Linked DNA regions of Homo sapiens: all the other regions are linked to region 5. Evidence: promoter capture Hi-C in 16 types of primary human blood cells and fetal thymus (Javierre and others, 2016). All regions are on one chromosome and are shown on one strand. The core of a region is centred on a gene start or on the middle of the fragment in contact, and the rest is flanking DNA. Distances in the headings are between cores, read along the strand shown.

Region 1 (4,512 bases), core at 146-2,645, 1.3 Mb after region 5:
ATGGACAAGTTTCAATAAAACTTTGTAAAAATAATTGGACATGTGCCTGGAGGAGCTCTGATTTTATTCAGTCCCTTGGAGAAGAGACTGGAACTCTTCGAGAGTTGCGTTTCAGTACCGTTCTTGTGGCTCTGAGCGGACAGGGCTACTCCAGCTGCCCAGGCCTGAGAACCAGTCCTGTGACTCACACCCATTCACACAGTTTGGAACCTTAAGGGACCCCTAAAACTGAGCCCCTCTGAACAGCTCAAGTCACAAGGGGAAGCTGAAGAGGGGTAACAGCAGAGGCTCCTGGCTTCGGCCAGTTGTTGGTGTCCCCAGGCCAGAGGGTTTGTTTCCTTTTGCTCCTAAACAAGCCCGGTGGGACAGCCTGGGATCGTGACCCTGGCGTGTGAGAGAGCAGGACGTTGTGGAGTCAGAGCTGTTTTCATCCACTAAAAGAGGCCGTGTCCCTCCTCCAAAAAGGTGGAAGGTTATGGGTGTTCCTTTAAGCCTTCTCAGGTATCAGGAAACATTTTAAATTTAGCAGAAAAGCATGCTAATGAGCTCTACCCACTGGTGCAGAAAACCCAAGCTGAAAATGCTATGTAAAATAAGACTGGTTTACTGGAGCCAGTCACCCCATGAGTTCTCCAAGCCCTGGGGCCACAGGGGACTTCCAGGTGAGGTCACTGCTGAGATGATGGAGGAGACACAAAACAAGAGGACATGGTCAGAGACAACACATCTCTGTGCGTATTCAAAGGATTTCATTTTCTTTAAAAAGCACATTATAGTCGGAAAGCCTGCCCACCAAGTGAAAGCCTCCATACCCAAGAAGCTAAAGGTTAATGGTGATTTTACAAAGGTGGAAAAGGAGACCTTGTTTTGCCCAAATCACAGGGGCAAAGCCATATGTCAAATCGTGTCCTATGACCAAGTAATCCTTTCTTCATTAGCATTTCCTTTATGGGTGAGGACTTAGTTAAAGCTTAACTCAAATTGCTTTTCAATGAAGATACATTTTTCCCTCTAGAAGCTGATATACAGATGAATTTATAGAGCCAAATTAAAGCCTAAAAAATTACTAAAATGTAAATCAGTATTGCAGGGCTAAGGCCACAAACAGGAAGTCAAAAGGCCAGACAAGAAAATTGTGCCTGCACCTCAGCTAGCTCAATTAGGAAATCTCCAAGGCTCCTAAAAGACTGAGAGAAAAAACCTGGAACATCATGATACGATCTGTGGCTGAGGTCAGAGACTGAACGAGCCAGTCTAGGAAAGAACAAAATTTCATTTTAATTCAGTTCCTTTTGTATGAGCACAGTTTCACTTTCAAGCATTTACTTCCCATATCTGATCCTCCTCTGCTATTGTGTCACCTTCAAAATTCAAATGTCCCCAATGTGATAGTATTAAGAGGTAGGGCCTTTAAGAAGAGATTAGGTCATGAGAGCCCCTCCTCTCATGAATGAAATTGAGGTTCTTATCAAAGAGGCTTCAGGCAGCATTCAGCTCATGTGCCCTGGCACCTTCTGCCATGTGAGGACACACAGCTTTTCTCCCCTGCAGAGGACCCAAGCACAAGGCGCCATCTGGGAAGCAGAGAGTAGCCCTCACTAGACAAGCAAACCTGCCCATGCCTTAATCTTGGACTTCCCAGCCTCCAGAACTGTGAGAGAATGAATTTTTGTTCTTTATAAATTACCCATTCTCAGGTATTTTGTTAAAGCAGCACTAAATGGGCTAAGACATCCACCAATGTTTACAAATGGTTTGAATGAATTGATGAAGACCCAAGACATGGACCACTCATCAAATCATAAAGTTTCTGAGGAATAAAAGCTTCAGCACTCATCTTGGCCAGCAAATTAGTGGAGAAACAAACTAGAGCCTTCTGCCCTGGTATGCCAACTATAATTGTCTTCAGGAGAAAACATGGAAGTTGTAGATACGTATACATTTCTTCTAAAACCCCAGTCATCCCTATTAATTGTAAAAACATCCACAGGATCCTCCTAAGAGTCATCGTCACTATAGTGAGTCAGACATTTGGAGAAGATCCCAAAAGCTGGAGCAGCAGCCGGAGCCCCGTCTCTGGGACCCCAGCCACTGGCTCTAGAACGAGCCACCAGGCTCTGCCCTCAGGGTGGGCTCCCACAACTACATTGTCGTCTTGTCTTTCATACAACTAAAGAGCCTTTCCCCAGATGAGGATGCCAGCTCTTACTGCTACCTCCCCCTAAAAGAATTCACCCATCCCATCTGAAATACTCAGTGGCCAGTGAGAACAGGCCAAGATGTGTATACCCTTGGTCGATTTTTTGTTTCCTTTTTTGTGGCTCTCTGAAAGACAGCCTGACTTATGCAGAGTAATAAAGTCATTTTCAAGGTTCTTTCATCTACCTCTAACAATCTCTCTAGGGCAAATAGAGTTCCGTTCATCATTAACAGACTCAAGGGAAAACAAAGTGATCAACACTGGACTCTATTTCCACTACCCCCACCCTCCCCAGCTTCAGGAAACAGCTTCAGCATTTGAGTGGGCAAATAAGAAACTATTTTTCTCATTTAACACTGTAGGCCTAGAGCCACGGTCTACATGCTTTAGACATCATTAGCAGTATTTAAATTGCCAAGGAAGACATGGGACTAAAACTAGAACAGACCACGGTTTCTCAACCTTGGCACTATTGAGGCTTTGGGCCAGATAATGCTTTACAGTGGGGGGCTGTCCTTTGCCTTGTAGGATGTTGAGCAGCATCTCTGACCTCCACCCATTGGATACCAGTAGTACTCCCGAGTTGTGACAACCAAAAATGTCTCCAGACATTGTCAAATGTCCTCTGGGAGGAGGGAAGCAAAATCTCCCCATGGCTTAGAACCAGTGGAACAAGCCAGTGTAACCACTGTATTCTGAGAATGGAATCTGAGCTGGCCCCCACGAATGCTTTCTATAGCAAATCACATTCAAGAGGTCCAATTCTGAAGACAGTCCTATTAAGCAAATTCTCTTTTGGCCTAACCCTCCAAATCCTAAAGTTCCATGGTTATGGAATTTGCTATGCAATCAACCTCTTTAGTCCGGTGACAATTAAGTTGTAAGCGCAGAAAACATGACATCTAATTTTGTGCTTATGAAACAGGAGTGGCCAGCATGAAGAGTTAGGCCTCATTTTACGGTGTGGCTGTGGAATTGGTTGGTTGTTTCTTTCGGGCTATTCCTTAGGGTTCAAACACTCTTCCTTGGCACTTCCTTTTGAAACCAAACTATGTTGACTTAGCTTTGGAAGTTTTCTGTGACCTCCCACAATCCTCTAGACAATCACTGAAATGCTTGGTTGATATTTAACAGATGTTTTTCTAATGCTACAAGGAAAGAAAGGTTCACATTTCACCACTTCATCTTCTGAATTATTTTCATTCTTACAACTACGACCTTGTGGCAGATTTTCATGCCCAACAGTAACATCGAAAAGAACAGAATTGCATCTGTGGTTCCCATCACAAGCAACAAAGACAGATACGACTCTGCGAGTCCAATTTTGACCGTGGTCAGACGACTTCATTAGAAAATAAAAATTCAAAGACTACAACCCACAGGAACCATGAAAACAAAAACATCACCATTTGCCAAAACCCGTTTGTCTGGATCGAGCAAGTTTATACTAACAAACTAAAGAATGAGAAAAAATTTATCTTGCAGACTGTAAAAGTTCCTCTACTTAAAAATGGAAGTATTTTCATTTTTAATTACCTTTGATTTGAATTCTTCTCTACAAAGAAATCTACATTATTAAATTGTAGTTGGCCTTTTAATAGATGAAAGATATCTTGAGCTGACCTGTTCCTGGTTAGCTGATTATAGAACTGGGTAATCCATTCTTCAGTAATCCTTTCCAAATGTCCTGTGTGACTGCTTGAAGAGCTTTCCAGCTCTGCAGTCCTATAAAATGACCTTAATAGCCAGTTCATGGTTCACTGGAAGTATTGACCAAATTTCCACAGTCAAACTCTTGGCAGAGAATGTCACCAATCGCTTAATTCCAGGATAGCAGTGTGCCCTAACCACCACGTGGCTTCCTCTATCCCACTCCAGAGGAAAACCCTCCCCACAACGTAAAGAAGGTCCCATCCATGATAATACACCTACACTGACACGCTGGTGATAGTTTTTCTTTCACAGTCTCTCAAAAAAAGAAGAGGTCATTGCACTAAAGCACACATTAGTTTAGATCATTGCTTTATTTCACTAATTGTTCAACAACAAAGTTCATTCCTCTCAAGGTGGATCTTGAATCATTCCTTGTGTTCTCTTCCTCGTTCTGAATAAAAAAGGTAATGAAGAAAAAGCCTGTACTTTTGGAGACCTAGAATCTTGATTGATGCTAATAAGCTTTTGACAGCAATTTCGTGTTACGGTATATCCTGCTGGCATCTTGGTGGTCACACGGAGCTCCCCACCCTCCAGTGAAGATGGCTGTCCACAACTACCACCATTGAAACCAAAAGTAAGTGTTGAAAAATGCACCT
Region 2 (4,875 bases), core at 307-2,806, 1.0 Mb after region 5:
AGCCTCAGGGGCATGGGTCCTACCTTTGTTTCCCAACTTCATCCAAGCTCCCACCCTGAATGTCAGCAAGAAGCCCAGACCCTTCCTTTATTCCCAAAGCACGGCTTCCATAAGGCAGTCCTGCTTCACTGACATTTACGGAAGACCCAAGCAAATTAACTGCAGCAAAGGAAAACCTGAAACTGGGGTTTCAGTCACTTCATATTTTTTCCCTAACTTGTAAAAGATTGTAGAAGATTCCAAACCTACAGAAAGTTTGCAAAAATAGTACAACAGGCAGTCAAATACCCTTAACTTAAATTCACAATGTTATCTTTTTGTCATGTTTTTAACATGTTTCCATATTTTTCATATGTATGTATGTATGCATACATGTGTGTATATATGTATGTATGTACTATATATATAATATGTGTGTATATTTACAATTTTTTAAGCTGAGCCTCTTGAAAGTCAGTTACAGACACTTCACACCTAAACACTTCAGCATGTATTACCGAAGGACATTCTCCTTCATAGTCACAATACAGTTAACACAGAAATTTCACATTAACCCAGTGCTATTATCTTTTTCTTTCTTTTTCCTTTTCTTTCTTTCTTTTTTTTTTTTTTTTTTTTTTTTTTTTTTTTTTTTTTTTTTTTTTGAGATGGGGTCTCACTCTGTTCCCCAGGCTGGAGTGCAGTGGCGCAATCTCAGTTCACTGCAGCCTCTGCCTCCTGGGGTCAAGTGATTCTCCTGCCTCAGCCTCCTGAGTAGCTGGGACTACAGGTGCACGCCACCACGCCCAGCTAATTTTTGTATTTTCAATAGAGACAGGATTTCACCATGTTGGTCAGGCTGGTCTCCAACTCCTGACCTCAGGTGATCCACCCACCTCAACCTCCCAAAGTGCTGGGATTACAGGCGTGAGCCCCAATGCTGTTATCTAACATAAAGTTCATGTGCAGATGTCCCTAGTTATCCCAGTCATGCCCTTTATAGCCTTGTCTCCAGTCCAGCATTCAATCAAGGGACCATGCATTTCATTTAGTTGTTGTGTCCCCTTGGTGTCCTAGAGAAACAGATCTTCTGCCTTCTTCCTCTTTTATGACATTGTTAGAATACAAAGAGGTGTATCCCTTGGACTTCTCTCCAAGAAAGAACTTGCCAGCAGGCGGCACAGGTAGCTGAGACTCTCCAGCTGTTGACACCGCCAGCATCCACAGCAGCTTTCATGCAGCGGAAGTCAGAAGCTTCCCCAGAAATTCCCCATCAGTGGGCACTGGCCATTTCTGCCTTGTGCTTGGGCTCAATCAAGCAATCTTTGCTCTGGATCTCCCTGTTGCATTGGCTGGACTCTGTCAGATCTGCATCATGGTCTAGGGCTCCCCTGCCAAATCCCACTTCCTCCTCCTTTTCTCTTTCATGGGCTTACCCGCAATGAGCATTTTGTAGTCCTTTCTCCGTGTCTGCTTCCCAGAGGCCCCAACAGACACAGACATTGACATCTTTTAAGAGTCCAGATCACCTATTTTGTAAAATGACCTTCACTTTTTATTTTTCTGATTGCTTTCTCATGATTAGATTCAGATTGGACCTCTGGGGCAGGACATGTATGTAGGTGATGTAACCATGTAGGCGATGCTGTGCCCTTCCCAGTGCATCACTTCAGGTTCACCTGATAAGAGTTTGTCCTGTCATTGGTGATGCTAAGCATAGCCATGATGGTTAAAGTGGTGTCCGCCAGACCTCACCGTTATATGGGTATCTCGTTTCCTTTGTAACGAATCATTAACCTGTGGGGTTAAACCTTGAGACTGTGATGCATTCATCTTCTCATTCATTCAGCAATGACAGAAAGAATGCAGAGCCAGGCCCTGTACCATGTGCTGAGTATCAGAAGCTTCCTTCCCAGGGATCATTGTTCCTTCTCCTCTTCTTCCCAGAGGACTCCTGCTGCTTTGTCTCCCCTAAGTTCTCAGTAGAGGACTTGCTCGTCTCCCCAGATGACAGTCTCTCCTTCTACCACCTCTCCCTGACAATCAAAATTTCCTATAAAAGATGCAACCTGTCTTCAACAAGGAGAGATGTTAAATAATTCTTTTTTTTTTTTTTTTTTTTTTTGGAGACAGAGTCTCGCTCTGTCGCCCCAGGCTGGAGTGCAGTGGCACGATCTCGGCTCACTGCAACCTCCGCCTCCTGGGTTCACGCCATTCTCCTGCCTCAGCCTCCCGAGTAGCTGGGACTACAGGCACCCACCACCACACCTGGGTAATTTTTTGTATTTTTAGTAGAGATAGGGTTTCACCGTGTTAGCCGGGATGGTCTCGAACTCCTGACCTCGTGATCCACCCGCCTCGGCCTCCCAAAGTGCTGAGATTACAGGTATAAGCCACCATGCCCGGCCTGTTAAGTAATTCTATAGTATATTTCCTATTTCAGTTTGAAGGATCTGTGTGTGGATGAGGTCACTAATTCTGGGTATCTCTATGTGGGTAGGTACACATCTTACATTCTTATGACAAAAAAAATACCTCACTCTCCCCAAAAGGAACTGCCTATCAACACCATAAAACCACCAAAATGGAGTATTATTCAGCTACAAAAAAAAGAGTGAGATCCAGTTATTTGCAACAACATGGATGGAACTGGAGATCATTATGTTAAGTGTGTTAAGTGAAACAAGCCAGACACAGAAAGACAAACATCACATGTTCTCACTTATTTGTGGGATCTACAAATCAAAACAATTGAACTAATGGACATAGGTAGTAGAAGGATGGTTATTAGAGGCTGGGAAGGATAGTGGGGGATGGGGGGCAGAAGGTGGGAATGGCTAACGGGTACCAAAAAAATAGAAAGAATGAATAAGACCTGCTATTTGATAGCACAACAGGTTGACTATAGTCAATAATAACTCACTTTTTAAATGACTAAGAGTATAATTGGATTGTTTGTAACTCAAAGGATAAATGCTTGAGGGGATAGATGCCCCATTCTCCATGATGTGCTTATTTCACATTACATGCCTGTATCAAAACAACTCATGTATTCCGTAAATATATGCACTTATTATGTACCCACAAAAATAAAAAATAAAATATTAAAACCACCAAAAACTTAAACATCCGTGTGCAAGCTAAGGTCTCCGGGTTCATGTGTGTACTCCTGCCATGATCCCGCCTACTCTGTTCTTTACAGCTTCTCCATAATGAGTCTGAAATTTGTTAATCAGCAAGCTCGCTTCTCAGTGCTGTCTTTTCAGCCTCCCTTCCCCGCTCACCCCTCGACGGAGCATCCCAGCTGTTTCCCTGATGTCTGTATCAGCCCGGGCACATTTAACAGGAATTCACTTCCATCTTCATCTTATTCTAGGAAGTAGATCATGTTTTAAGGAATAACAAAGATGAGTTCAGAACATTCTTTCATAAAACACAGAGAACAACAGATATTTAGAAAATTGGCTTTCCGGCCATGACCTCCAACAAATCATTCTGATTTTCTGCCATATTAAATTCTTTATGATGAAATCTAACAAAATTCAGTGGAAGAGTTTTGGAGGTAGTATCTGTAAATCAATAGCTAGCAACCGCTACCCCTCAGGTAGTTCCCACTATGCAAAATAGGGCAAAGTGGGATGGGGGTGCAGAATGGAGTAGTGAATAAGAACACAGTCGTCAATGTCACTTGACCATGAGTTCAAATCCAGGCTTTGCCACTTAATAGCAAGTCAGTTTCACCTTTTTAAGCCTCTATTTGCTGTCCTATAGAATGGGAATAATAATATGGCAAGGACTCAATGGACTCATCTATTTCATATAAGAATGCACTTGGGACAGTGCAGAGCACATAGGAGATTGGCATTAGTCCCATTTCACAGATGGGGATTGGCATTAGTTCTGGTAGGACTGGCATTAGTTCCATTTCACAGATGGGGAAACTGAGACTGGGGAGTAAAGTTACCTCACTCAAGGTCACTGAACTCCTGAGTGACAGGGCCAGGACTCAAACCTAGGTCTTTCTGACAGCAAACGTCTTTCCATCCATTCTTGCCACACTTCACTTCTCAGCTGTCAGGTTAAACCACACCACTTCCCGATGCTACTATTTAAACAGCCCCAGCACATGAATATTAAATGTGAGTATATCTGCCAAGAAAACCATCCCCATCTAAGAGTCCACTGTTAGTCCATGCGTGCTCCATCCCTCCCAGAACCCCACCTCCATTTACCACCTTTTAACCTGGTACATTACACGACATCACATGGTGTTTCTGACGATCTTGCTCTCAAAAACTCATTGGGTCGATAAGAGAAAGGATGCTGTTCACACATGCTGTAGGAAAGGTGGGCAGGGCAGAGACTTGACTTTGTTTTCTAGGAAACAAAGAACGGAGTCATCACCGGTGCTCTGCAGAGCAATGGAAACACTGAAAGCTCTGAAGCCAATGGCACATCCAAGGGAAGCAAAGACAGAAAATCAAAATCAACTGTCCCCAAGATGGCTTTTATGCAACCAGGTTGGGAGTCATCACAGAGCACCAAACAAAGGATATCTGCAGAGACGGTGTATTAGTCCATTCTCACACTGCTCCAAAGAAATACCTGAGACTGGGTAATTTATACAGAAAAGAGGTTTAATTGGCTCACAGTTTCGCAGGCTGCACAGGAAGCATGATGCTGGCATCTGGTCCTGGGGAGGCCTCAGGGAGCTTTTACTCATGGCAGAAGGCAAAGTGTGAGCAGGCGTCTTACATGGCAGGAGCAGGACCAAGAGGGAGATGGGGGAGGTGCCACAAACTTTTAAACAACCAGATCTCACAAGAAATCACTATTGAAAGGACAGCACCAAGGGGGCATGGTGTTAACCCATGAGAAACCACCCCCATGATCCAA
Region 3 (4,837 bases), core at 1,293-3,792, 1.2 Mb after region 5:
CAATACTGCTCATTTCAGTCCCTGAGCTTCACCTGCATGGCTGAGGTTGAGTGTCCTTCCCTGTTTTGGGATCTGGAGGTAGCCAGGGGAAGTCAGATAAAGATAATGTAGAGTAAGAATTTAATAAACATGAAAATTTTCTAAGTGCCTTATGCTAGGCACTATGTAATTCATATGCATTTGCTGGTTGATTCCTTGTAATTATCCTGTGAAGCTAGCATTATTATGCTTATTCACATTTACAGATGACAGAAAATTGAAGCTAAAGGAGGTGAAGTGGCTTGCCCAAGTCACACGCCTTCAAGCAATTAATCAAGAGTTCAAATCGTGGTCGTCTTGAAATTTTGCAATATTGCTTTAACCACATTACACTGCCTCTCTACTTAAAGGATCTTGTCTTGGGGTTCAAATTGGTCATCTTTTGGGGGGAATCAGAGCTCGAGCTTTAGTGATAATAAAATTTAGAAACCATTTACATTTTTGAAGGGTGTTCACATCCATTAGCACCATGTGATCTTCAAAGCAATCCTCTGAGATGTGCAAAGCAAATCTCACCCACATTTTGAAGACATGACACACCAAGTAATTTGAGATTTGGGTCTGGCTATTTAACTCTGTAGCTTTCTCCACCACACTACCCTGGGGCAAAGGAACCACACTAGTGAAAAGTGGAGAGGGCACAAATTCCTTTCTGGCCTAGTCTCAAAATAGCTCTGAATTTTTTTATGTTTGTTTACTTATTATCTGTCTTCCCAACTAGATTTAGCCTTCATGAGGGCAAGGACTACATCTGCTTTATTTGTTATTGTATTCCCAGAATTTCTCATAACATTTCTGGCATCAACTGAATGGATGGATGGATGGATGGATGGATGGATGGATGGATGGATGGATGCATGGATGCATGGATGCATGGATGGATGGATGGATGGATGGATGCATGGATGGATGGATGCATGGATGGATGAACAGTTGAGTGGATAAATGGATGAATACTTGAGTGCATGGATGGATAGATGGATGGATGGATGGATGGATGGACGGACGGATGACTGAGAGAAACTAAAAGAAGCCATCATCAGGGTTAGACTCATCAGGATTCCTCAGATCCCCACTGCCTTCTAGGAAATAAAGATGTCCAGGAGGCTGGCTTAGATGTGAGACTGCCCATCCTGGCAAAGGTGGAGCCTGATAGTATAAAAAATAAGCTCACAGCTCAGTGTCCTAAGGCCAGCACAAACAGTTCCCTCAATGACCCAACAGGTTGGCGAGAATAGAGCTGAGGCATTCCTTTGACCTTAGACTTTTAAAAGTAAAAAGTCTACTTTCAGAGCTTGGGGCAGGTTTTCTATTACACATCACAGAGCTAGTCCCTTCCATCACATGACTTAAGCCAGAAATACCCCCATCCTTTGTCCCAATTCACTTTTAATGTTCTGATGAAAAGTCTCTCCCGCTTGCCTTTTGGGATTATATCTATCACCACGGATGCTATTCAACAGCCATTTCCCATTCTTCTTTTGCTAGGAGTCCTGATTTTGTTCAAGTGTCTACCCCTTCCCATGTGAATCAGGATAAATTTTGATTGGTCTAAATCTATATTGGCAATTCCATTCCCCATGCTAGGGTTAATTTATAGGTGGTCATGTTACCCCAGGTTTGCAAGGGGAAGCTCCTGAGAAAGGTTTGTTTCTTCTTAAAACAAACACAGAGGAGGCCGGGCACAATGGCTCATGCAATCACTTAATCCCAGCACTTAGGGAGGCCAAGGCAGGTGGATCACCTGAGGTCAGAAGTTCGAGACCAGCCCAGCCAACCTGGTGAAACCCCATCGCTACTAAAAATACAAAAATTAGCTGGGTGTGGTGGGCACCTGTAATCCCAGCTACTCAGGAGGCTGAGGCAGGAGAATCACTTGAACCCGGGAGGCGGAGGTTGCAGTGAGCCGAGATCACGCCATTGCACTTCAGCGTGGGTGACAGAACAAGACTCTATCTCAAAAAAAAAAAAAAAAAAAAAACACAGAGCACAGAGGAAAACAGTCCTTTCCCGGAACTTATCGTGTCTTCACTAAATTGTGCAGGCACCTTGCTGCCAACAAGGGGCAGATTCAAGAGAATCACCTTGGCTGGAACATTTTGAAGTGAGTTGATACAACCTTCATTGCCCAAAGCAGCTGAGTCTGGGTTTTCTGCTACTTGAAGCTGAAAATACTCAGTTGCATAAACCAATAACAATATCATTCTCACGCCTCGCCCTTAACTAACATCTGCTCTTTTGATAGCTGTTTGAATGATAGCTCCCTCGTCTGCAAATCTCAGAGAAAGCCTTTGACTCTTTCAAGCAAGATGTCATCATGCCAAAGAGAACCCAGATTTGTTATACTTGGAACTCCACAAAAAGGCTGCAGTGTGCCTTGCAAATGGCAACATTAACTCTGCTAAAACCTTCCCAAAGATGTGAAACTCAGGGGTCACTAAGGAGCTGGGGGTAAGGCAGAGAACATATGACACAGTACAAAGCCCTTCACAAGGCAGAGACATCTTCATCCCCAAAGTCAAAATAATCTAGGAACAGGGGTGAAAATGAAAAACTGGTGACGGGGGAAGATTTTCAACAATCATTTTAAGGTGTTCACGGGAACAGGGGTGGGAAGGAGGTGAAGAATAGTGTATATTGATTAGATGGTAAGTCCTGGAGGTAACAAGTGGGAGAAGGGGACTGAAAGAAGAAGGGCTGCAGTTTGACAGGTGGAGGTAGGAAACTCATAGAATGTTTGCGCCAGGTGAGACCTTGTCATCAACCTGAGCTTGCATATCATTGAGCACCTACCATGCTCCAGGCTATTTGAGAGACGCCAGAGGTATAAAGAGAGCCTGTGTCCTCCAAAGGTTAAATAGTGGTGTTATACTGTGATGGTTAAAACAGAATGTTCAGGTGTCAGACTGAGAAAGTTCAGATCCTAGTTGTGTTGTCATTGGCTGTATGACCTTGAGAGGTATCTTCACTTCTATATATCTCATCTGTAAAATGAGAACACCACTAAAGAGTCAATGAGATAGCCTGGGCCAGTCTTGGTGGCTCACGCCTGTAATCCCAACACTATGGGAGGCCAAGGTGGGCAGATCACTTGAGGTCAGGAGTTCGAGACCACCAGCCTGGCCAACATGGGGAAACTCCTCTCTACTAAAAATATAAAAATTAGCCAGGAGTGGTGGCAGGCACCTGTTATCCCAGCTACTCTGGAGGCTGAGGCAGAAGAATCGCTTGAACCCGGGAGACAGAGGTTGTAGTGAGCCGAGATCACGCCACTGCACTCCAGCCTGTTTGACAGAGTGAGACTCCATCTCAAAAAAAAAAAAATTCAGTGAAATAGGCTGTGTAAAGCATCCAGCTTACAGTAAAGACTCAATACAACTCAGCTATGACAACAATGGCAGAGAAAGATGGAGCACACAGAAAGCCACCACCGGAGTCTGGCAAGTCAAAAAAGGTACATCAGCCAAAGTCTTTATATGCAAGCAATAGAATCTGATTCTGGCTAATTTAACTCTGAGTCTTTACATTACTGCCTCTGAAAACATAAAAATCCGATCGCAAAGCCTAAGTCACATGATCATATCCTAGTTGACAAAAAAAGCTGAGAAAGCAAGTATCTGGATTGTTTGACTTTCATAATAGGAGAAATATTAATCTCATAGAGTGAAAGTTCCCCAAGAAAAGGAAAAGGACTGAGAAGCTACTCATAAAAAAACAAAAGTGTCCTCTAGAGAAGGCTTACTGGAAGAAGTAACAGCTGAGTTGAAACCAATCCACATCCTACATTTACCAATGAAGAAACTGAGACACAGAGGGGTGGACTCTTCCAAAGTCACTAGCTTTGGGAGGAAAAGAAAGAAGGGCTTGGAATAGGGGACAGTAGGGTTCAGGAGGAGACCCCAAAGGAGATCTCTGATGGGCTGAGGGAGGAAGAGGCTGAAAGCCTCAGCCAGAGTTGGTGTTGGGTCCAGAAGTGGTGGCAGCAGAGGAGACAGTGAATATTGGACGGTGTTAGTTTCCAGGCCTGGGAAGAGTTTGGGATCCAGCATAGAGGAGTGGTGTATCATAAGGAATTGGTTTGGTCTTTATCCCCAGTTTCTGGGAGGGAGCCTCTAAACCCTTAGAAGTTCCTGAGTGAGAAGAGTTTCTTTGTTATTCATAGTGGGCCCCACAGATCACCCCTGAGTTTATGCTAATGAGGTGATCCACAGTGGGTCCCTAGATAGTTTTTGGCTGGAAGCTGGTCATGCCAGAAAGACCAACAATGTGATTAGAGGGTTGGGGTTTTGAACCACGTTATATCCTTTCATCTTCCTATGCTCTGGGGACAGAAGGAGGGTTGGAGGTGGGGTTCAATCACATGGCCATTGATTCAACCAAGCATGTCTACATGATGAAGCCCTAATAAAAATTCTGAACATCCGACATTCCAGTGAGTTTCCCTATTCGATAATCATATATCGATATCCTGAAGACATGGAAATGCCACATCTTGGACCCTCCCAGACTTCACTCTGTGTCACTCTTCATTTGGATCATTTTGATTTATATCCTTTATAATAAAATTGTAATCATCTATATCATATTTTGTTGAGTTCTGTGGGTTGTTCTGTCTTATAAACAGATAAGAACTCAACAAAGTATGATATATATGATAGTGAATTAATGGACCAGAGGGGCTAGTGGGAACCCTCAAATTGTAGCCAGCTGGTCAAAAGTATAGGTGGCCTGGGACCACTATGAATGGTGTCTTAATTGAAGACATTCTTGTGTACCCTTAATCTGAAAGTTTTGACCT
Region 4 (4,611 bases), core at 1,823-4,322, 1.2 Mb before region 5:
CAACAAGAGTGAAACTCTGTCTCAAAAAAAAAAAAAAAAAAAAAAAAAAGATCTTCTGAGTTTAAAATTCTATGGCTTCTCTCAGTTTTCTTTTTGCAAGTAGCCAGAACATTTCAGGTCAACCTGTGTGCATTCTGAGAACACAGGAACGCCAAGATCCCGGGCCAAAGCAATCACCCACCCACAGATTAATGTTAAGTATGCTCCCGCTGTGTTCAAAGTCCTTGACATACTTCTAATTAAGCAGTGGTACAGGAAAAGGGGGAGCTGAGGAAAAAACACAACAATCCATCATTATTACACAGAGGCACAGACTGTTCAAAACATACACAAAACCAGCTGGACTAGAAATGGAGGTTGCAGGCTCATAGTCCATGACCAACTGCACCAAACATAGCTAGTACCAAAATCTACGTATGTGCAAACACATTCAGATCAGCATTTACAATTTGTGATTATGAATGCTTTTAGCCAGGGCATGGCTTCTCCAAAGTAAAATACAAATTTTGTTTATTCTAACACTAATAAATATTTATAGAAACCAATTACACTAAGGAATGTCTATTTGTATTCTCCATAGGGGAAAACATTCAAATTTGTCCAAAGTTCAAATTTTCCCTTTCAAAACTTGAAAAGCCTTGAAAACATTTCAAATTATTAACTCCATTAACTAACAGTAATTAAAATTAGAGAATCCAAAGGAGTCTTTAGGAAAACAAAAAAGTGAAATAAATCAGATTGGCTCTATTTCTAGAACCCCAACCAGAAATAAATATCGAATAGTTTGTTGAACTCAAAACATTAGTGTGGATTATTTTCCAGAGTTACAAAAAGGGATCAGGGGCAGATACAGAAACTTCCGTGAGGCCAGGCACGGTGGCTCACGCCTGTAATCCCAACACTTTGGTTTGCAGAGGCCGGCGGATCACTTGAGACCAGGTGTTCAAGACCAGCCTGACCAACATGGTGAAACCCCAACTCTACTAAAAATACAAAAATTATCCAGGTATGGTGGCGCATGCCTGTAGTCCCGGCTACTCGGGAGGCTGAGACATGAGAATTGCTCGAGCCCAGGAGTAGGAGGTTGCAGTGAGCTGAGATTGCGCCACTGCACTCCAGCCGGGGAGACAAAGCAAGACTCTGTCTCAAAAAAAGAAAAAAGAAAGAAACTTCCATGAGACATTTTGAGGAAAGAAAAAAAGAAAACAAAACAAAACAAAACAAAAAAAACCCACCATGTATTTCTGCAATACTTAAAAAAAAAAAAAAACCCAAAAACTTTTCAGGGATAATGAATGCAAGACAATTCATTTCAGGGAGTAATAACTCTGATTTATAGGTAGCTTTTAATCCTCTGTTACCTTAACAAATAATGCAGTTCACTACTGGGTAGAACCTGCAAAGCCAGAGAGAAGAACCACATTAATTTCGTCAACCCTTCTGGGAAAACAACCGGGAGAAATTTACAGTGTTCAATCATTGATGATTCCCCAAATAACGGAGGGGTTGCAAAAAAAATCCGTTGAACCCATTTGAGAAATAATGCTGATCTGGACTCCGTCTACATTGTGCTGCGTGGGTCCCTCCCTGCTCCCTCCACCCCCACTCTCTCTCTGGCTTTAGAAAAGTAAAGCTGGCACAGACAAATGGCTTCGTGTTGTTGGATAGGAGGAAAAGGACACAATGACTCTTGCAGCCATCTAAGTGAGTAAGGGATTGTGAGAGCATTGAAAAGGGAGATACGAAAAGAGCTGGATGAGCTCATGCCTGCAGACCCAGACACATACACCAGCAAGCCAAAGCTTAGAGCCACATCAACAGATCCTTACGTGCTCTGAAAAGAACCTCTTTGAGAACGAGGCTACAATCTTCCGCGCTTCTAACCCAGCTTTTTGCCGAACTTTATACTCTTCCAACCAATTGACGTAGTCGGTGGGGCTGTAGTGTTTCATAAGGGAAGGCCACCTACGAGGAGAGAAACACCCCCTCAGCTTAACAGAAACTCAAAGGCAGGCGGCCACGAATCCAAGGCAGCCTTGGAAACAGGGACAGCAGTGGCGTCCAGTGGTAAGAGGGACCCCGGCGAGAGACCTAGTTCAAAACCCCACCAGCATTCACTCACTCACTCCCGGTGTGACCTTGGCGTAGCGGCATGAATGATGTCTCCATTCCCCATCTCTAAAATGGGGACAGTTGTAACAACAACAACAATAATAATAATGACAATGACAGTGAGCACTGATTGAGCGCCTCCTAGGAGCCGGGGCCCTGCGTGCGTGCCTCCCGGACATCATCTAATTTAATAAACACGGTGAAAGGTAGGTCTAATGATCACCACCACTCAAAGTCTATGAACGAGGCTCAAAAAAAGGGAAGTCGCTCCCCCCAAGGTCACAGAGGGAGTGTGCAGGGCCAGATTTCATCCTGGGGCCACGCTGAAATCTGTGCCGTCCACAACCAGCCCGGGGATGCTGCGCCCGCCCGATCGATGCATCACTGGGTCCATGTAAACATTTCAGCCCGAAGTCGGGCACAAAAGAAGCGCGCAAAAGGGACGAGCCGCGCCGCCGCCAGCGTCACCCTTGACGGAGGACCCGGCTGCGAGGCGCTCCTAGATGCGCCATTTGGGGACCCGGGGGTCCGCCTGGCGTGGCCCCGCAGGGTCCGGGGCCTGGAGGCCTTTGTCTGTCTGTCCGCGGGAAGGGGTCCGGGGTGGGGTCCGCGCGCGGGGCGGCCGCGGGGAGCTAGCGGGGCGGCTGCCCGGCCCCGGGGGGCGCGGGGCGGTGGGCGCGCAGCCGGGGCGCGGGGCCGCTGGCTCACCTCACCCGGAACTGCTCCTTCCACACCTTCCCGCTGCTCTGGCACAGCTCGCGCAGCCGCCGGCAGGTGCTGGAGACACGGCCGATGTCGGCGGCCGTCAGCGAGCCGCAGCACAGGATGTACTCCAGCACCTCACCCGGCAGGTTGACGAGGCAGCTGAGGCCCGCTACCTCCGGCGCGGCCTCCTCCGCCAGCGCCGGCACCACCTCCATCGCGCTGTCGACTGCTGCCGCCGCCATCTTGTCCGCGTACCTGGGGCCGCCGCGCGCGCGCGTGCGAGAGTGCCCGGGCGCCCCGCCTGGCCCCGCCTACTGGTCTTGGGGGCGAGTCCTGAGATCGCTCCGCCCATCCGCGGGCCACACCTCCCCTGCATCGGCTGGGGGCTGCGCGGGTGGCAGCGCCGCAAAAGGGAGGACATAATTGGGCTCTGTGCTTGGAGCCGGCAGCGCAAGCCGCCTCTAGTCCGGGACAACAATAGTAGCACTGATTCTTTTAAACGTAATTAATGTTTAAAATTAACAAATAAAAATGGTATCTATTCTCACGCGTGCTGAGCGCTTTCTGTGCGCATTGGACCTTTCCGAATTACCCTGCGAACTTTCTCCCCATATTACAGATGGGGAAACAGGTTCGGAGAGTGAGAGGGCTTGCTCAGGATCCCTTGTCTTGGATTTTTTTTCCCCCTTTGGGAAGGAGTCTTGCTCTCACCCAGGCTGGAGGGCAGTGGCGCTATCTCGGCTCACTGCAACCTCTGCCTCCTGGGTTCAAGCGATTCTCCTGCCTCAGCCTCCCGTGCGGATGGGATTACAGGCGCGCGCCACCACCCAGGTTGGAGTGCAGTGGCCGTGATCTCGGCTCACTGCAACTTCCACCTCCCTGGTTCAAGCAATTATCCTGCGTCAGCCTCCCGAGTAGCTGGGATTACAGGCGCCCGCCACCACAGCCAGCTAATTTTTGTATTTTTAGTAGAGACAGGGTTTCACCATGTTGGTCAGGCTGGTCTCGAACTCCTGACCTCAAATGATCCACCCACCTCGGCCTCCCAAAGTGCTGGGATTACAGGCGTGAGCCACCGCGCCCAGCCCCTTGTCTTGGATTCTATTTCAGATCCACTTGACTTTTGCTTGTCAGTAATCTTAACCATATGATGTAATAATAACAATATTCTTGAGTGGGTGCTATGGGAAGCCCTCTATGATGGTGTAGGGGAGTAATAATAATCCTCAAATGTGTGCCCTGATTTTAGGCTAATAGAGGGCAGGCAGAGAGCTCTCCTGTACTGGTTTCTTAATTGTTTCCAGCTCAACAATCCTTCATATTTGGGGAGCATAGTCTGACCTCCCACAATAGGTACCACAGTTATACCTATTCTACAGAAAAGGCAAAGTTCTTCCAGGTGGCAGTCACTGGTTCAAAGTTACAGAGACAAAAGTGCTAAAGCCTGGATTTGAGTCTTCAAAGCGGGAGTTATCACTCAGGATTGGGAGGGTAGTCTCAGGATCTGCACATTAAAAAAAAAAAATCAGTTTAGTTCAGTGCCAAAGCCCTGTGTTGTGTGCCCTGGGGATACAGGGGTGAGAAAAATGGAGTCTTTGCTTCAAAACCTCAAAGTGCAATTACAGTTAGAAGGATCTGTTGTCAGTACATGGAGGGTCCAATGAAGTACTCCTGGCAACTTGGAAATCAAGATGCCCTGAGAGAGCTGAACTAGTAAAGTGACTCTCAATGGATGGCGTTGAGCCATCTGTGGCTCCCTATTTCCCGTAGAAATGAATGTGACATCCCAAACAT
Region 5 (4,891 bases), core at 1,115-3,614:
CTGGCCAACATGGTGAAATCCCGTCTGTACGAAAAATACAAAAATTAGCCGGGCATGGTGGCACCCACCTGTAATCCCAGCTACTAGAAAGGCTGAGGCAGGAGAATCACTTGAACCCGGAGGCGGAGGTTGCAGTGAGTCGAGATCGCATCACTTCACTCCAGCCTGGGTGAAAGAGCAAAACTCCGTCTCAAAAAAAGAAAAAAAGAAAAAGAAAAAAAAGAATCATACTCCATTCCAATTGTGATGTCCCCCTTTAAAGTTTCAGTTTGGGTGTTAGGGTAGGCAGAGAAGGCCTGGAAGCAAAGAAGTTGTGGAAATGGGGCTGGCAGGGCTTCGTTTCAAGTCAAGTCGAGTTCCTGAGCGGTGTGGCTGAGTACCGTTTTGAGAAGGGATATATAAAAAGATTTCAAGGTGGTAAAACTTGGTTTTGAGGGAACTTGATTTTTACAGGAGTATAGCGACTGTCCAAAATCATATTAAATAAATCTAAAGGTTAGGTAAGACTAAAGCCATAAGAGAATTTTTTTGAGTAGGTCCACCTTCACTAAAGAGCATTTTTTAGTTCTGCAGCTGGCAATCTGGACAGAAAAAAATGGGGTAAGTTTTCATAACCCAAGTGCTCAGTTGTGTCTATTCATTACATATAAAAAAGAAATGCATGACCATTAACAGATGCTGTTTGCAGTCAAGAAGACAGCAGTAAAACATAAGCAGGATAAAAATCTCAGCGTCTTGAAAGGAAACCATTTAGCAACGAAATAAACTTAAAAATTAATTGTATCAATGAACTCTTGATTTCTAAAATCTTTGCTTTTTCTGCACTATGATTACTGCTACTGACAGGAACGCAAGTTACTCAATATAGTTGATTGCAAGTAATTTAGATGTTCTCCAACAGCACAAAGAAAGAAAATGACTTCATCTTTTGGACAAGAGACAGTTCTGGAATCCTAGTTTAAATATAGATGGCAGACCTACGGTGCGATCTGAGAATGATTCTTATTTAGAAGGGGCTTCAGAAGATCTCAGAACTCCTGGAAAGACATCTTAGCATTCCATTCTGGAAATTCTTTAGTTTTGTTGGGAGAAAAAATCACTTACAAATAGAGCCAAGATTTTAATTAAAACAAGGTAGTAAATAAATGTCAAAATAAGTGGGATGAGAATAACGTTTCATTTTCAGAAGAGTCCATAGGGAACAATTCAGAGATAAATTTAATCACAAAAGGTCTGAGAATGGGAATATTCGGTTCCACCCTGGTTTTCACATCTGTTCATTTTCACTACTGGTTGCGTTTCCTACGGAGACTCGGGTGGAACATAAAAGTGGGGCTACTTTGGACAAACCATTAAAAACCTTACCCTTTTTTCTCGCTACACACAACTAGACCACATTGCTCTTAGCTAAAGGGACACCTTAAATCTATTCGTTCAGCAAAACTTATAACACCGTGTTCCTTTTCTACTCAGAGGGAATCGCACAAATTAATTCTTGCAGATACTCAGCTCTCCTGTTTTTTAAGCTTCCACGTGGGCCTTAGCCAAATAACTTCTGGTAGGCAAATTCTCCCCTTCTTCAGTTGAGAGCTCAGAGCAAGCTGTTGGATTAAGCAAAAGCACCTTTTAAAAAATTAATATTCAAGGCAGCTGTACCGCGGAGGGCCTGGGTCTCGGAGTCTAAAAAATCAGACTGGACGTTACTATTTTTTTTTAGGCAAACGACAGCTCGTTTCTCATTTGTAAAACCGGGGGAACATCTTACCGAATAAACCTTACACAAACAGAAAGGATTCCTAAGGGCTGGGAAAATACTATTTTGCTGTCCCCAGGATGGAATATCAGCATCCTTGTCTTTTAGCTCTTAATAAAGCTCTAACTAGTCACAGGAGGAGCCAGGCTGCATGATCACGCACACTCTGGACGTCTAGGTTTTCCGACCTAATAAGGGGGCAGGTCGCGTCGTTCCCTGCTTAAATTAGAGACCACCTCCACCTGCCAAGGGCCCTTCAAACCCTCCGCCCCTAGGTCGCTAACGATCACCGCTTTAGTTCTAGCTCCAGGCGCCGCCTGGCGGCTGTCTCCGGAAGTCGCCTGCGAGCCTCGGGGTCCTGACCGCTGCTGGGCCTGCCCGTAGATTTGCCTGACTCTAGCGAACCTGGCTCCGCCCCTCCCCCACTATACGTTGAGGATTTTAAGACGGCGATGAAAGGGCTGAGGTTGTGGCGACGGGGGCGTCCAGCGGCATCTCCACTCCCCCAAGGATGGCGGAATCAGGCCGTTGTCGGGCAGCTCTCGACCCGGAAGTCGCTCGCGGCGCGAGGCCCCCGTTGCCGAGCGCGGGCGCGGGGGGCGGAGCTCGGCGGAGACGGGGAAGGGGTCGCCGTGGCTGCCGGTCCTCGAGTTGGGGGCTGCCGCGGACACTGCTAGGCAGACGGCGAGTACCGAGCGCGGGTGGCCGCGGTGTCCGTGGGCCACGCTCAGCTGCGGTCAGAGGCGACATGAGTGCCGCGGGGCTGCTGGCCCCGGCCCCGGCCCAGGCTGGAGCGCCGCCGGCCCCCGAGTACTACCCCGAGGAGGATGAAGAGCTGGAGAGCGCCGAGGACGACGAGCGCAGCTGTCGGGGCCGCGAGTCGGACGAAGGTGAGTCCTGCCGCTCGCCCGGCCGCCCGGAGCGGAGGTGGGACCGCTGGGGGAGGGGGTGGGGCTGTTCGGGAGAGGGGCGGGGCGGCCTCCGGGGCCTGGGGCTGCGTGGAGGGGCCGCCGGGAGTTGCGGGGCTCGGGGAAGTTACCCCCATCCGTGCTGGAGTAGCGGGGAAGCCCTGGGTGCGTTACACTCGACCGTGATGGGGAGAGGGGACTTAGATGTTGTCACGCTGGGGGTCCCTTTAAGACCCCGTCCTCCCTCCCAGCCGTTTCTGATTGAACCTCACTCACTAGTAGGAATTAGAAACTCATTTACTGAATACATCGAGTGTAGTTCGCCCCTTTTTTGTGTGTGAGAGCATCAGAGTCCAAAGTTGCCCCTCCCCACCCCCGAAATGCATAAGTCATCTATACTTTAGGTAGTACACTATTGAGAACTCAGGTTGGTTAAAGGAAAGGGACCTAGAACCAGCCAGATACAGGTTTAAATTTGGCTTTGTCACTTAACTCAGCTTTGTAAACTTAAGTTTTCCAGCCTCGATTTACCCAACTGTAATGGAGCTGTTTAATTCCCACACCTGCCCTAGAAGGCACTTCCTAGGGTCGGTATAGGGATTAAATGACATGCGCATAAAGTACTTGGCCTGGTACTGTAAATACTCCGTAAATGTTCTCCCCACCCGCCCCCCTCCCGGAAACAGGTAAGAGAGGGAGAGATTTGCTTAATGGTCCCCAGGTGTTGTGTTTTCAGTCCCACGCTCTTTGCACTGTCATCACAGAGTCTCAGAGCCTTGCTTTTCAAACTGGGCTTTATAATTTGGCAAGTGTGAGGAACGCTATTTTGGAGGGATGGAGGAGGAGGAAGGTGATGAAATGTGAGAGATCAAGGGAGGAGAAATAGGAAACAAAGAGAGACCGATATATGAGCGGAATATTCTGGGACAAAATCGGGCCGTGGAGCAAAAGCTAGACCAGCTGTTTGGAATGGGGCCTACGTTTTATTCATCTGAGTTTCCCGAGTGCCAAGTAATGTGGCTGACCATGACAGGAACTCAGGGAAGGCCTCTTGACTGAAGGAGGGGAGAAGGGTTTGTGGGGAATTGGATCTGCAACAGCCTTACAAAAGACAGCTGCATATGCATGACATACAAAGTTGAGGGACTGCATTCGATTTAATTCCATCAGAAGACACGGCTTAACCAGAGATTTTGAATGTGAAGCACTTGCACTTCATCTCATACCCACGAGGGGGCGCTGTGGAGCCAAAATTGAGTTTTTTTTTCCTTCCAGTATAGGGGCTATTAAAATTTTGTACACACCCCAGCCATTAGCTTGTTCTAAGAACAATGTTTAAGATGTTCTGAAACAGTTTTCGTTTGATCATCTGGCCTCCTCCTTGTTCCCTTTAGTTGTAACTTGGAAAATATTTATTTGTGTCAGATTCCCCTTTTTTATTGTATACAGTTGGCTCTGCGTATCTGTGGGTTCTGCATCTGTGAATTCAACCAAGCGCAGCTCAAAAATATTCAGGAAAAAAATTGGATCTGTACTGAACATGTGCAGACTTTTTTTTTGTTATTCCTAAACAGTGTAGCGTAACAACTACTTACATAGTATTTACATTTTATTGGATATTGTAAGTAATCTTTTTTTTTTTTTTTTTAAGATGGGGTCTCACTCACTCACCCAGGCTGGTGTGCAGTGTCACGATCTCAGCTCACTGCAACTTCCATCTCCTGGGTTCAAGCAGTTCTCCTGCCTCAGTCTCCGGAGTAGTTGGGATTACTGGCACCTGCCACCATGCCTGGCTAATTTTTGTGGTTTTATTTGTTGTTTTGTTTATTTTATTTTTTTTTGAGATGGAGTTTCACTCTTGTTGCCCAGGGTGGAGTGCAATGGCGCGATCTCGGCTCACCACAACCTCTGCCTCCCGAGTTCAAGCAATTCTCCTGCCTCAGCCTCCTGAGTAGCTGGGATTACAGGCATGTGCCGCCACCCCCAGCTAATTTTGTATTTTTAGTAGAGACGTGGTTTCTCCATGCTGGTCAGGCTGGTCTCGAACTCCCGACCTCAGGTGATCCACCTGCCTTTGCCTCCCAAAGTGCTGGGATTACAGGCGTGAGCCACTGCACCTGGCCCTAATTTTTGTGTTTTTAGTAGAGATGGGGTTTCACCACGTTGGCCAGGCTGGTCTGGAACTCCTGTCCTCAGGTGATTCTCCTGCTTTGGCCTTCCAAAGTGCTGG
Region 6 (4,472 bases), core at 1,269-3,768, 1.3 Mb after region 5:
AAATGCTGAAAGAAAAAAGGTGTCAAGCTCTAGTGAAAATATTCTTCAACAATGAAAGCAAAATAAAGATATTTTTAGTTAAAAACTTAGAGACTTTGTTGCCAGCAGATCTGCATTACAAGAAATGCTAAAGGAAGTCCTTTGGCCTACAGGGAAATGAAACCAGATGGGAATTAGTATTTAAAGGAAAAAAAATGAAAAGTAGTAGGAATATTAAATTTGTGAATAAATATTAAAGACCATAAATCTATGGTCTAATCAAAATCTCAGCAAGACTTTTTGTAGAAACTGACAAGTGGGGTCTAAAATTTATATAGAAAGGCAAAAGAACTGGAATTGCTGAAACAATATTGACAAAGAAAAGCAAAGTTGGAGAAGTTACATTGCCTGATGTGAAGACTTGCCATAAAATTACAGTAATTGAGACAGTGTGAAGCTGGGCACAGTGGCTCACACCTGTAAGCTTTAGGAGGCTGAGGTGGGAGGATTATATGAGGCCAGGAGTTTAAGACCAGCCTAGACAACATAGCAAGACTCCATCTCTACAATTTTCTTTAATTAGCCAGACATAGTGGTACATGAATATAGTCTTAGCCACTTAGGAGGCTTGAGCCCAGGAGTTCAAGGTTACAGTGAACTATGATCATGCACTGCACTCCAGCATGGGTGACAAAGCGAGACGCTGTCTCAAAAAAAAAAAAAAAAAAAAAAAAAAAGACAGTGTGGTATTGATAAGACAGACACATAGATCAATGGAACAAAATAGAAACTTCACAAATAGACCCACACATATATGGTTAATTGTTTTTGTTTTGTTTTGTTTGTTTTTTTGTTTTTTTGTTGTTGTTGTTTTTTTGAGACGGAGTCTCGCTCTGTCGCCCAGGCTGGACTGCGGACTGCAGTGGCGCAATGGCTCACTGCAAGCTCCGCTTCCCGGGTTCACGCCATTCTCCTGCCTCAGCCTCCCGAGTAGCTGGGACTACAGGCGCCCGCCACCGCGCCCGGCTAATTTTTTGTATTTTTAGTAGAGACGGGGTTTCACCTTGTTAGCCAGGATGGTCTCGATCTCCTGACCTCATGATCCACCCGCCTCGGCCTCCCAAAGTGCTGGGATTACAGGTGAGCCACCGCGCCAGGCCTGTTTTGTTTTGTTTTGAGACAGTCTCCCTGTGTTGCCCAGGCTGGTCTGAACTCCTGGCCTCAAGTGATCCTCCCACCTCAGCCTCTCAGGTAGCTGGGATAACAAGTATGAGCCACCACTAGATTAAGTCAATAGATTGTTTTTTGGTTGTTTGTTTGTTTGTTTGTTTTGAGACAGAGCCTCCCTATGTTGCCCAGGCTGGTCTGAACTCCTGGCCTCAAGTGATGCTCCCACCTCAGCCTCTAAGGTAGCTGGGACAACAAGTGTGAGCCACCACTAGACTAAGCCAATTGATTTTTTTTTTTTTTTTTGAGACAGGGTGTCTCTCTGTCTCCCAGCTAGAGTGCAATGCGATCATGGCTCACTGAAGCCTCAACCACCTGGGCTCACATGATCCTCCTGCCTCAGCCCCACAAGTAGCTGGGGCCACAGGTGCATGCCACCATGTCCAGCTAATTTTTTTACTTTTTGTAGAGATGGGGTCTCACTATGTTGCTCAGGGCTGGTCTCAAACTCCTTGGCTCAAGCAATCCTCCCACCTCGACCTCCCAAAGTGCTGGGATTACAGGCATAAGCCACGGCACCTGGCTGTAAATTGATTTTTGGCAAAGGTGCAAAGGTCATCCAATGGAGAAAGAATAGTGTTTTCAACAAATGATGCTGGAATAATTGGACATCCATGTGCCCACAGATGAACTTCAACCCATAGTTCACACCATACATAAAAATTGATTCAAAATAGATCATAGAGCTAAATGTAAAACCTAAAATGATATAATTTCTGAAGAAAATATAGGAGGATGTGGAGAAACTGGAACTCTTGTGTACTGTTAGTGGGAAATGGTACAGCGGCTATGAAAAACAGTATGGCAATTCCCCAAAAATTAAAAATAGAATTACCATAGGATCTGGCAATTCCATTTCTGTATACCCAAAACAACTCAAAGGGACATGAAGAAATATTTGTACACCTGTTTTCTTAGAAGCATTATTCACAATAGCCAAAAGGTAGAAGCAACCCAACTGTCCATCAATAGATGAATGGATAAACAAGCTGTGGTGTATACATACAAAATATGATTCAGCCTTAAAAAGGAAGGAAATTCTGATACATGCTACAGCATAGATGAAACTCAAAGACATTATGCTAAGTGAAATAAGCCAGTTACAGAAGCACAAATACTGTTTGATTCCATACATCTGAGATACTTGCAGCAGCAAAATTTATACAGACAGAAAGTAAAATGGTGCTTGCTGGGGTCAAGGGTAAGATGGAATGAGGAGTTACTGTTTAATGGGCATAAAGTATCAGTTTTGCAAAATGAAAAAACTGTGGATGGATGGTGATGATGGCTGCAAAACAATGTAAATGTACTTAATGTCACTGAACTGTACACTTTAACATGGATAAAATAATAAAGTTTATGCTATGTATATGTATTAATCGCATTTTTCATTTTCTATATCTTATGAGGCTTGACATCTTGGGGACTTACCAACCTGAAAGAGACTGTTTGTCCCAGGGTTAGCTCATTCCAAGAGATAGCAGATGACCTTCCTGCAATATGCAGTCCAACCAATTCAGAGCCCATACTCTGAACCACCTCCTCTCTCTGGCTTTTCCACTCCGAGAGGCAAGTTTCCCCTGCCCTAATCATCCCAGGGTCAGGTATCAGACAGTTAGAGACTACCCCTATAGCCCACAGCTGGCCTGAATTATTCAAACTATCCAATCCTAAGCCCTAATCATCCCAGGGTCAGGTATCAGACATTTAGAGACTACCCCTATAGCCCACAGCTGGCCTGAATTATTCAAACTATCCAATCCTAAGCCCTAATCATCCCAGGGTCAGGTGTCAGACATTTAGAGACTACCCCCCCCAACCCCCTATAGCCCACAGCTGGCCTGAATTATTCAAACTATCCAATCCTAAGCCCTAATCATCCCAGGGTTGGGTGTCAGACAGTTAGGTACGACACCTATAGCCCACAGCTGGCCTGAATTATTCAGACTATCCAATCCTAAGCCTGTTCAGCTGCTTACCTTGCCTCGCCCATTCCTCCTGGCAAAAACCACAATAAAGGCTTTTTCCTAGGCTTTCTTCTCATCCTCTCTGGCTGTGACCAACCTCAAAGTTCTCTCCTGTGGTTCTGCATGGCATGGCGGGCTCCTGCCCCTTGGGAACTGTATTAGACTGTTCTCACACTGCTGTGAAGAAATACCTGATACTAGGTAATTTATAAAGAAAAGGGGTTTAATTGACTCACAGTTCCCCATGGCTGGGAAGCCCCAGGAAACACAATCATGGCAGAAGGAGAAGCAAACAAATCCTTCTTCACAAGGAGGCAGGAGAGAGAAGTGCCAAGCAAAGGGGGAAAAGCCCCTTATAAAACCATCAGATCTCATAAGAACTCACTCACTATCAGGAGAAGAGCATAGAGGTAATCGGCTCCATGATTCAATGACCGCCCCCGCCAAATTCCTCCCACGACACGTGGGAATTATGGGACCTACACTTCAAGATGAGATTTGTGTGGGGACACAGCCAAAGCATATCAGGAACTGTGAGCAATAAAACTATATTTTTAATGGCAATGGTCTTCCGATCCATTGGCCTTACCATACATGAATAAACCCAAAGTCCCAGGTACATTCTAGAACAGTATATCCTACAACATTTTAAAAAATACATTAAGGAAATGATAGATTCAGTACCTTAAGGCAGCAGTCCCCAACCGCCAGGCCACGGACCAGTACCATGGTACGTTAGGAACCAGGCCGCACAGCAGGAGGTGAGCAGTAGGTGAGCAAGTAAGGCTTCATCTGTATTTACAGCTGCTCCCCATCGCTCACATTACTGCCTGAGCTCTGCCTCCTGTCAGATCAGTGGTGGCATTAGATTCTCACAGGAGCACAAACTGTATTGTGAACTGCGTATGCGAGGGATCTAGGTTGCATGCTCCTTATGAGAATCTAATGCCTGATAATCTGTCACTGTCTCCCATCACCCCTAGATGGAAGCATCTAGCTGCAGGAAAACAAGCTCAGGGCTCCCGCTGTTTCTACATAATGGGGAGCTGTGTAATTATTTCATTATATATTACAATGCAATAATAATAGAAAAGTACGCAATAAATATAATGTGCTTGAATCATCCCAAAACCATCCCCCCAACCCTAGTCCATGGAAAAATTGTCTTTCACGAAACCTGTCCCTGGTGCCGAAAACACTGGGGACCACTGCAATATAGTACATCTGTGCAGCAGTAGTTTTGCATGGTGGCTAAGAGCATAGACTCAAGAATTAAATTTCCTGTATCTAAATCCTGGC

The links. Contacts are between HindIII fragments. The CHiCAGO score rates a contact against its expected background, and 5 or more counts as called.
Region 1: a contact is called between a fragment that was not itself captured here and the fragment with the promoter of SUDS3 in region 5, in 2 of 17 cell types (total B cells and naive B cells). The highest score is 10.3, in total B cells.
Region 2: a contact is called between a fragment that was not itself captured here and the fragment with the promoter of SUDS3 in region 5, in 1 of 17 cell types (endothelial precursors). The highest score is 6.7, in endothelial precursors.
Region 3: a fragment that was not itself captured here is called in contact with the fragment with the promoter of SUDS3 in region 5 in 3 of 17 cell types (naive CD8 T cells, total CD8 T cells and naive CD4 T cells); the score reaches 7.9 in naive CD8 T cells.
Region 4: a contact is called between the fragment with the promoter of FBXO21 here and the fragment with the promoter of SUDS3 in region 5, in 6 of 17 cell types (naive CD4 T cells, non-activated CD4 T cells, total CD8 T cells and 3 more). The highest score is 8.5, in naive CD4 T cells.
Region 6: a contact is called between a fragment that was not itself captured here and the fragment with the promoter of SUDS3 in region 5, in 1 of 17 cell types (total CD8 T cells). The highest score is 5.3, in total CD8 T cells.

The regions. Positions count from the first base shown.
Region 1 is chr12:119,681,586-119,686,097 of GRCh38, forward strand. It overlaps LOC124903033 (a long non-coding RNA gene), which reads right to left and starts at 3,901. Exons shown (of 2, transcript XR_007063485.1): 1 at 3,737-3,901. It overlaps PRKAB1 (protein kinase AMP-activated non-catalytic subunit beta 1), which reads left to right. Exons shown (of 7, transcript NM_006253.5): 7 at 1-34. It overlaps CIT (citron rho-interacting serine/threonine kinase), which reads right to left. Exons shown (of 48, transcript NM_001206999.2): 48 at 4,206-4,512. RefSeq lists enhancers at 417-476, 647-776. The HindIII fragment of the contact is 854 bases long and covers 969-1,822 here.
Region 2 is chr12:119,417,789-119,422,663 of GRCh38, forward strand. All of the region lies in intron 1 of CCDC60 (coiled-coil domain containing 60), which reads left to right. The region is part of intron 2 of PRKAB1-AS1 (PRKAB1, TMEM233 and CCDC60 antisense RNA 1); the gene reads right to left. Among named protein-coding and RNA genes, the nearest start is that of CCDC60, 85 kb to the left of the region's middle. The HindIII fragment of the contact is 650 bases long and covers 1,232-1,881 here.
Region 3 is chr12:119,546,611-119,551,447 of GRCh38, forward strand. The region is part of intron 2 of PRKAB1-AS1 (PRKAB1, TMEM233 and CCDC60 antisense RNA 1); the gene reads right to left. Among named protein-coding and RNA genes, the nearest start is that of TMEM233, 45 kb to the right of the region's middle. The HindIII fragment of the contact is 7,127 bases long and covers 1-4,837 here.
Region 4 is chr12:117,187,398-117,192,008 of GRCh38, forward strand. It overlaps FBXO21 (F-box protein 21), which reads right to left and starts at 3,073. Exons shown (of 12, transcript NM_015002.3): 1 at 2,821-3,073; 2 at 1,830-1,965. The coding sequence starts at 3,059. RefSeq lists an enhancer at 2,200-2,289 and silencers at 2,760-2,809, 3,090-3,189, 3,230-3,289. The HindIII fragment of the contact is 6,345 bases long and covers 1,801-4,611 here.
Region 5 is chr12:118,374,191-118,379,081 of GRCh38, forward strand. SUDS3 (SIN3A corepressor complex component SDS3) reads left to right here and starts at 2,365. Exons shown (of 12, transcript NM_022491.3): 1 at 2,365-2,643. The coding sequence starts at 2,502. LOC124903031 (a long non-coding RNA gene) reads right to left here and starts at 1,937. Exons shown (of 2, transcript XR_007063480.1): 1 at 1,766-1,937; 2 at 1,108-1,601. RefSeq lists silencers at 2,362-2,581, 2,612-2,761 and an enhancer at 2,420-2,920. The HindIII fragment of the contact is 4,103 bases long and covers 1,525-4,891 here.
Region 6 is chr12:119,654,207-119,658,678 of GRCh38, forward strand. The region is part of intron 1 of PRKAB1-AS1 (PRKAB1, TMEM233 and CCDC60 antisense RNA 1); the gene reads right to left. It also overlaps a transcript of TMEM233 not described here. Among named protein-coding and RNA genes, the nearest start is that of PRKAB1-AS1, 12 kb to the right of the region's middle. The HindIII fragment of the contact is 4,114 bases long and covers 462-4,472 here.